3 separate regions of the Homo sapiens genome follow, and regions 1 and 3 are each linked to region 2. Evidence: promoter capture Hi-C in 16 types of primary human blood cells and fetal thymus (Javierre and others, 2016). All regions are on one chromosome and are shown on one strand. The core of a region is centred on a gene start or on the middle of the fragment in contact, and the rest is flanking DNA. Distances in the headings are between cores, read along the strand shown.

Region 1 (2,700 bases), core at 57-2,556, 2.3 Mb before region 2:
TACTTATGTAAACAAGTTTGAAAAAAGAAAAGGCTGATGAAACCTTTTAGTAACAAAGGTAAATACACAGAATGAGTTTATTTGCTATTACAAAATAAACACTACTGAACTAAGTTCAAACACTGAGCTGATAAGGCAGACACGAAGGCATTCCATTATTTACAAGTATAAACATACGAAACCTAATTTTAATAGTTTTGAAATTTCAAATCCAATTGCAACATAATGAAGTATGGCAAACTGTAAAAACAAATCTTTTCCAAACCATCAGGAAATGTTAAACAAATACTGAACAGCATTAGAACTCTGCTGTCTCAGTTGTACTTAGGTTACATAAAAATCACAGATTATCATTAATTGGATGTACTTACTTGGAACATTAAAAATATACACGAAAGGAGTTAGCATTAAACATTATCACATTTCAAAAGTAAATGAATAATCCAAAATAAAATACTTATAATAGCTTTAGAAAAAACTCCACTGGATAAATGTAGAAATATTCTAAATACACATGATTTGGAAGTAAAATTACACTTTATCTTATCTGTCTAACTGTTCTTCTCCATTAGGGATTATCATTCCTTATGAGTACAATTCAGAGTAACTTCTGTAAATAGGTTTATAAAAAATCATTTTCAATGTGGCAGAATATAAGTAAACAAACATCTGGAACTCACTAACGCAAACAAACTAAAAAACACTCCTGAATACTATGCTCTCACTTTAGGCAATGAAGAGGTCCGGGAGACACTACTCGGTTGACACTGGCTCCAGCCATGGTGTTCAGCTGAACTTCAGAAATATAAAGCGTCACAGAAGATGACTGCAGTCGTGTTTTTACAACTTCCAGTGGACATGTCAGAATAGCTCCCACTGTACCACCACATCTAAAAAAAAAAAAAAAAAAGAACACAGCTTATCTACTTAATTCATAAGTTAGTATATATGCCCAGAGCTGTAATCCACATGGGTACCTGGAGCTTTGCCAACATACTAAAATTTATAATTTTTAATGTTAGATGACTAAACTGATTTTTAAGAGATTCCATTATTTGATTTCATACAAACTTCTTCAGTAACTAAAATGAACACAGCTTAGTAACTATCTGGCAAGAATAACTGCTAAACACTTCAACTGATAGGTGCTGTTACTAAAATTGTACTGGTAAGTCACATAATGGCTTTAAATACTGTCCTAAGGTTTGATTTAGTACTCATGTATATATATAACTTGTGGCTCTGTTAAAATCTAGGCCATTCTTTGAAGTATATCCTATCTTTCAAACTCCTGTCCTTTCAAACTGAAGAAATGGTCTTCTGAACAATAAGGAAGAACTCACTGATAGTTAACCATACATAGTTCTCTTATTTTAAATCCCCAAATATTCAGAAGTATTTCACCTACAAAAAAATACAGCATTTGAGGGCTGGGCGCATGGCTCACACATGTAATCCCAGAGCTTTGGGAGGAGACAAGAGGATGGTTTGAGGCCAGTTTGACATCAGCCTGGGCAACATAGCCAGACACCACTTTACAAAAAATTTGTTTAAAAAATTAGCCAGGTGTGGTGGGGCATGCATGTAGTCCTGGCTACTCGGGAGGCTGAGGTGGGAAAACTGTGTGAGCATAGGAGTTCAGGGCTACAGTGAATATGATCAGGCCACTGCACTCTAGCCTGGGCAACAGAGTGAGACCCTGTCTCAAAAAAGAAAAAAAATTGGCATTTGAGTCTCACAATTAATACCTGTCAGGCCTACACGTGGAAAACTGTACAATGTAGGTAGGCTTGTTAGAAGAATCCAACTTAAATAAAAGGACTGATCACCAGAACAATAATAACAAAAGCTCTTAATGACATTGAACTGTTTAAAAGGTATGTAAGATATAGGCTGAGTAATTATTATTTTCTTATTTTAAAATACAAGAGTAGAAAATAATTTCCTCTTAAAACATTAATAACTACCAAGTGAAGCCTTTAGAACTGCTTTCTAACCAAAAGGGAAAATCACTCAGAAAAGCTCTTAGTGCGGTGAAAGAGAAAAGCTAGTTGAGTCAGGTTAACGTGGACCTTCAAAATGGGCATTAAAAGAAGAAAAAGAAAAGCAACCCATGCAATAATACACTAAACAATTCTACCTCCACAATAAAAAAAACACACACACATATATATAAAGGAAAGCAGGCATGGCAATGTTAATATCACTCCGAATAGAATGTAAAAGAAATTTTAAAAGATAAAAATATGTCATATTGGTGTATTAGTATATGCCACAAAGAAAATAAGATAAAACCAAACTGTATGCAACTAGAGTGAAAAACTTATGCAACAAAACTATTAAAAAATAAAGAACATTATATGTAAAATAAAAAACATGCCCCTTACCTCACAGTACATTTTAAAATTAACTCGAAATGGATCACAGACCTAAGTTTAAAATGATGAAACTATAAAACATCTAGGAAAAAAACATCTGGAAAAAAATCTTTTAACTTTGCGTTAGGCACAGACTTCTTATATGGACATCAAAAGAAGCACAAATCATTAAAGAAAAAAACTGAAAAACTGGACCTTATCAAAACTAAAAACTTCTACTCTGAAAGAAACTGCTAACACAATGAAAGAAACTGAGAAGAAAATGAAAGCCATAGACTGAGAACAAATATTTACAAATCATTACCTGCAAAAGTGCTTACAG
Region 2 (2,700 bases), core at 42-2,541:
AGTGTTGACATCTTCATCTCCGGGCCGGCCCCTTATGAAGTGAGGGGGGTCTCCAGTAAAATCACTCAGGAAGCTCCTCGAGCCAAGTATTCCCAAATGCTACTTACTGGAGGTACAAAAAGGAGAATAACTTTTCTGAGGGCCATTTCACAATCTATACCAGAAGCCTTGTGGTATAGACCGTGGATTCTATCTTGTTTTAGAACGAATCTTGTGCGATTCTTTCTACAGAAATGATCACGCTCAAAAACCCAGATACAACGATGCTCAATGAATTACTTTTTGCAATAACTAAAAACTGAAAACCACTTGTACGCTCACCATCAGGGAGAAACTACATTTAGTAAATCACAGTCCAAAGCCATGCCAAGAGTCAGGGATGGATGAGGTAGTCAACCTGACACACAGGAATGTACAGTCGAGAGAGAGAGAGAGAGAGAGAGAGAGTCGAGAGAGAGAGAGAGAGAGTCGAGAGAGAGAGAGTCGAGAGAGAGAGAGAGAGAGAGAGAGAGAGAGAGAGAGAGAGAGTTTCAGCACTTTATGATGCAGGTTCTGCAAAAACAAGCCCCGCTCATGTTACAAGGAAAAACCATCTGGAAGAATATACACCCTCATGTTAACGCAGCTTGTCTCTGGGGAGCAGCGGCACGGCTGCTTTGCTTGCTTCCTTGCTTTCTGTTCCACGTTTTCGACAGTGAGAAGTATTATCTTTAGAGGTCGCGAACAGGCCGGAGGAGGGTGCGGCAGGTCGCGGGGCAGGGCCTCGCTAGGCAGGGACGCCCCCGCACCGCCCCGGGCTGGCCCCGCGCCCCGCGCCCCGCCGCACCTCCACCTTTGCCGGCGGTGAGCGGGAGCCGCGTCCCGCCCCGAGGTCTGGGATCACCGGCGGGCCGGCTGGAAGCGTCCGGAACTCACCCAGCGTCTCACCCGCGCGGGTCTCACCGACCGCGCAAACACCGCCCGCCGCCGCCGCCCAGAGATGGCCGCCGCCGGCGCAGCAGGGCCGAGAGCGTGGGGACGCCGGGGGGCTGAGTGCAGGGGTTTCCAGGGTGCGGAGCGGGCGGGCCCGAGGCGTCCGGGCGGGCGCAGGCGCGACACCGACCCCACCCGGTCTGCTGCCTCACCTGTGCTCTGTGGGCCGCGGGAGGCTCTGGGGTAGGTTTCACCAAACAACCGGTTGGTTCCGACTCGGCTGCGTAGGCCGCGTGGCCTTGCTCCCCTGGCCGAGAAACAGGCGCAGCCGGCGCGGAGGTTGAAAGCTCTGCAGGCGCGAGTACCAAACGCGCCGACTGTTTGTCGCGCCTCTCAGGTCCCCTGGGGCGACCAGCGCAGGAGGCCACCCCTCCCGCCGCCACGGACCCAACCCTGGTCCTCTGCCTTAGCCGAAGGCCGCACCCTCCGCGCATAGGCCTTCCTCAGCCCCAACCCAGGACATCACCATGTCCCGCAGTGCGTCCAGTCTTCCTGCCAGCAAGTGTGGGTAGGAGCCGGCCGCTGGCCCCGCTCTGGGCTAGACGGTGGGGACATACTGGCGGGCAAAAACAGCCCTGTGCCTGCTCTGCAGCTATGGGGAAGGAATATCTGTTCATGGCAGCAATAGCATTCGCTCCTTAAAACCTCTTTATGAGTCTCATTCCTTTTTTAAAGACCCAAACTACTTAAGGTGGGCATGAAGCCCCCATGTGTGATCTAGCCTCTGCCTGCTTGGCTTCATTTAGGTCCTTAAAGGATGCAGGTTTCTTCTCGCCCAGGGCCTCTGCAAATGCTCTTCTCTCTGCCTGGACACTCCTCACCTCTTCCCTATTGTGAGAGTTCTTCATATATCATTTCTTAGATTACACTATCCTGGCCCATAAGACTTGCAGCATTGCTGGGTGTGGTGGCTCATACCTGTAATCACGGCATTTTGGGAGGCAGAGTGGCGGATCTCTTGAGTCCAGGAGTTCAAGACCAGCCTGGGCAACATGGTAAAAAAAAAAAAAAAGAGAGAGAGAGAATGAGAAAGAAGAAAAGAAAATAATTAGCGGCTCAGGCCTGTAATCCTAGCTACTTGGGACGCTGAGGTGGGAGAATTGCTTGGGCCCTGAAGGGAGGTAGAGGCTGCAGAGAGCTGTGATTGCACCACTACACTCCAGCCTGGGCAACAGAGCGAGACCCTGTTTCATTAAAAAAAACACACACAAAAAGAAACAGCCGGGCTCAGTGGCTCACGCCTGTAATCCCAGCACTTTGGGATGCTGAGGCAGGCATGGCAAAACCCCGTCACTACTGAAAATATAAAACTTAGAGGGGCGTGGTGGTGCATGCCTGTAGTCCCAACTACTTGGGAGGCTGAGGCAGGAGAATCGCTTCAACCTGGGAGGTGGAGGTTGGAGTGAGCTGAGATTGAGCCACTGCACTCCAGCCTGGGCGAAGAGCAAGACTCTGTCTCAAAAAAAAAAAAAAAAAAAAACAGCCGGGCACAGTGGCTTACACCTGTAATCCCAGCACTCTGGGAGGCCAGGTGCGGATTGCCTGAGGTCAGAAGTTTGAGACCAGCCTGGCCAACGTGGTGAAACCCTAGCTCTACTAAAAATACAAAAATTAGCCGGGCGTGGTGGCATGCGTCTGTAATCCCAGCTACTCAGGAGGCTGAGGCAGGAGAATCACTTGACCTTGGGAGGTGGCAGTTGCAGCGAACTGAGATCGCCTCACTGTACT
Region 3 (2,700 bases), core at 47-2,546, 2.3 Mb before region 2:
TTTAGCAGTCACTTCCATTTCCCTCTTTTATCTCCTGGCTAATCTACTTTCTAACTCTTTGGTTTTGCCTATTCTGGACATTTCATACAAATGAATCATACAATATGAGGCATTTTTGTATCCAATTTCTTTCACTAAACATAGTGTTTTTGAGGTTCATTCATGTTGCAGTGTTTTTCAGTACTTCACTCCCTTTTATGACTGATAACATTCCATTTTATGTATATATCAATTTTGTTTATCCATTCTCAATTGATGGCTCTTTGGATTGTTTCTGCTTGTTTGTTATCCGTTTATATGAATAATGCTGCTATGAACATTCTTGTACAAGCTTTATTATGGGCATATGTTTTCAATTCTCTTGGGCATATACCTAGGAGTGGAACTGCTGGGTTACATAACCCTATGTTTAACCTTCTGGGGTGCTGCCAATCTTTTCCAAAGTGGCTGCACCATTTTAGGTGTATTTCATTTAAGACAATAGCTGTAGCTCATGTTTTTGATATAGTGAATGCCATAGTAATTACACTTAATGAAGTTTCTGAAACTGGTAAGGAGGGAGCCAGAGTTCTTATGTGCAATAAGAGTTATTTCTATGTGTAATGACAGTTCCTAATGTGATGGGTTCTTTTTGAACCTCATTCAGAAGCCACCGTGGAAGTCGACTCTGCCCTCTGCACATTCTGGCTGGTATCCCTGGGGACCGCCCCCTCGGGTGTGGTTGCCTTAGTCGTCATCCTTGCTGGGATTCCAGGGTTGAGTTGCTGAGGTGCAAGCGTGATCTGCCCACTCTTTTATAACCTTCCCCCTCATTCGTGTTTCTTCGAATGCTTCTTCAAGTGGTTCCATCAAGATCAGTACAAACGTGAGGTTTCTGGAGCCCGTGGCCCTTGCACAAACATGCTTCCAGAAGAAAGTCGTTAGGGCAGGGTGGGTGGGACTAAGACCACGCTTTGGTATTAGATGCATCTTCACCTCCTCCCACCACCTATTCCTGCTGAGGGGCCTTCTGGGAGTTGTAGTTTCTTATTGAATAAAGAGAAAGGGATCTTCACCATCAGTGTGTTCTCAACCCAATGCCAGCCTCAAAACAAACAAGCAAACTCATTATGAAGTAAAGGGGACTAGATTTCCGGGTTAGTACTGGTCTCAACTTTTAATTGCTAATAAGCCGAAGAAAAGTTGTTAATACCTATGGTGGAGTAGAGCTTAGATGGACCACTGATGTCATCCTCCCCAACCCCTACACCTTGGCCTCTATTGGTCTTGTGGGTTCAGAAAATTCCTGTGGCTTTTCGGAAAAGCCAAAAAGTGTGCTTGACATTTTTTCTTCCCTGCAGTACCTGGCACAATGTTAGCACTGGGTCAGCATCCAGGGTCAAAAAAAAATTCCTTATTTTTTAAAATTTTTATTGATTTTATTTCTATTATTTATCCTTATTTATTTTATTTCTATGTCTTCTTCACTATTTTAGTGGGAGATTGGAAGAGATTTGTTCATATTCTCTTAGCCATATGCTATCTTAATTTTTTTCTTCATTTTACTTTTAGTAAAAACTAGTAAATTCAGAGAGTACAAAGGTGCATGAGATAGAAATTAAAATCCTCCCATCAACCTCTCTTCCTAAATCCCACTCCTCAGGGGAATCCCAACAGTTGGGTAAATGTTTTTCTGGGTACTCTCCGTGCCAAGCTGGTGATTATCTCAAAGTGCTTCAGATTTATACAACACTTAGAGGCATTGTTGCAAGCCCTTTGCCAGTATTTAATCTTCTCTACAACCTAATGAGGTGCCATTTTACAGATGAGGAAACTGAGAGGTCAGGGAATTTGTTAAGGTGACTTAGCTAGAATGTCACTGAGCTGGGATGGAAACATGGGCAGTTTGGCTCCAAAGTCTACACTCTTGCCTTCTATTCTACACCATTTCAATAGTTTTCTTTGTTGATTGAAAATGTAAGCTGTAGTTCCTGCAATCACCGCCACCACCCCCAACAACGAGAAACTGGTGCCCAAGAAGACAAAATGTTCACTTATATCTGAGCTCCAGATGAAAAGTCATGAGGGCAATTGTTCCCTAATGCGGACTTAATCTCCTTTTGGAGCTGCCACTCCTATCAGCCACTCTGTGTATTCAAAAATTTTTCTTTTTCTTTTTTTTTTTCCAACAAGAATGAGGTTGAATCAATAATGTTTAATGGTTCTTAGATACAATGGTGGCAAGCATACAGAAGTAGTACTGGGGCTAGATAAGAAGCTTTACTTGTAAAAAGGGATTTTCCCCATAGTGAATCAACATTTTCCTTGTATTTCTCAGGACAGTGTCCCAGGAGCCATGAACAAACAAACAAACAAACATGATTTTTCTTATATTTCAGGAGAAGGGTATTAGAAGACAGGGAAGGCCTTGCAAAGAAATATGTAGATTTCATTGAGAAGAGGGTGTAACACACTTTTTTTATTTTGCATGGACATGCCTAGTTCTTCAACACTGTGGTAATAGAGTAGTACCCTGCTTCCCATTTAGGAACCGATCTAGGGGCCTCATCAAGAGCCACTGCTTTGAAACTCAGCTTCCATGTTGGCATTTAGATCTTGCTTTTAACATTAACTCCTTGTTTTTATTGAAAAAATAATAAAAACAAACAACCAATCCAAAAATGGGCAAAGGACTTGAATTCACATTTATCCAAAGAAGAG

Evidence for each region. The method cuts DNA at HindIII sites, captures the fragments that hold promoters and counts their contacts. A CHiCAGO score of 5 or more calls a contact.
Region 1: a contact is called between a fragment that was not itself captured here and the fragment with the promoter of FAIM in region 2, in 1 of 17 cell types (total B cells). The highest score is 5.4, in total B cells.
Region 3: a fragment that was not itself captured here is called in contact with the fragment with the promoter of FAIM in region 2 in 2 of 17 cell types (total CD4 T cells and naive CD8 T cells); the score reaches 6.2 in total CD4 T cells.

What each region holds. Positions count from the first base shown.
Region 1 is chr3:140,954,717-140,957,416 of GRCh38, reverse strand. SLC25A36 (solute carrier family 25 member 36) reads right to left here. Exons shown (of 7, transcript NM_001104647.3): 2 at 726-890. Among named protein-coding and RNA genes, the nearest start is that of SLC25A36, 14 kb to the right of the region's middle. The HindIII fragment of the contact is 5,297 bases long and covers 1-2,700 here.
Region 2 is chr3:138,607,362-138,610,061 of GRCh38, reverse strand. It overlaps FAIM (Fas apoptotic inhibitory molecule), which reads right to left and starts at 1,291. Exons shown (of 6, transcript NM_001033031.2): 1 at 1,125-1,291. RefSeq lists an enhancer at 554-643 and a silencer at 744-1,203. The HindIII fragment of the contact is 4,797 bases long and covers 1-2,700 here.
Region 3 is chr3:140,929,392-140,932,091 of GRCh38, reverse strand. No RefSeq gene overlaps it. Among named protein-coding and RNA genes, the nearest start is that of SLC25A36, 11 kb to the left of the region's middle. The HindIII fragment of the contact is 1,926 bases long and covers 334-2,259 here.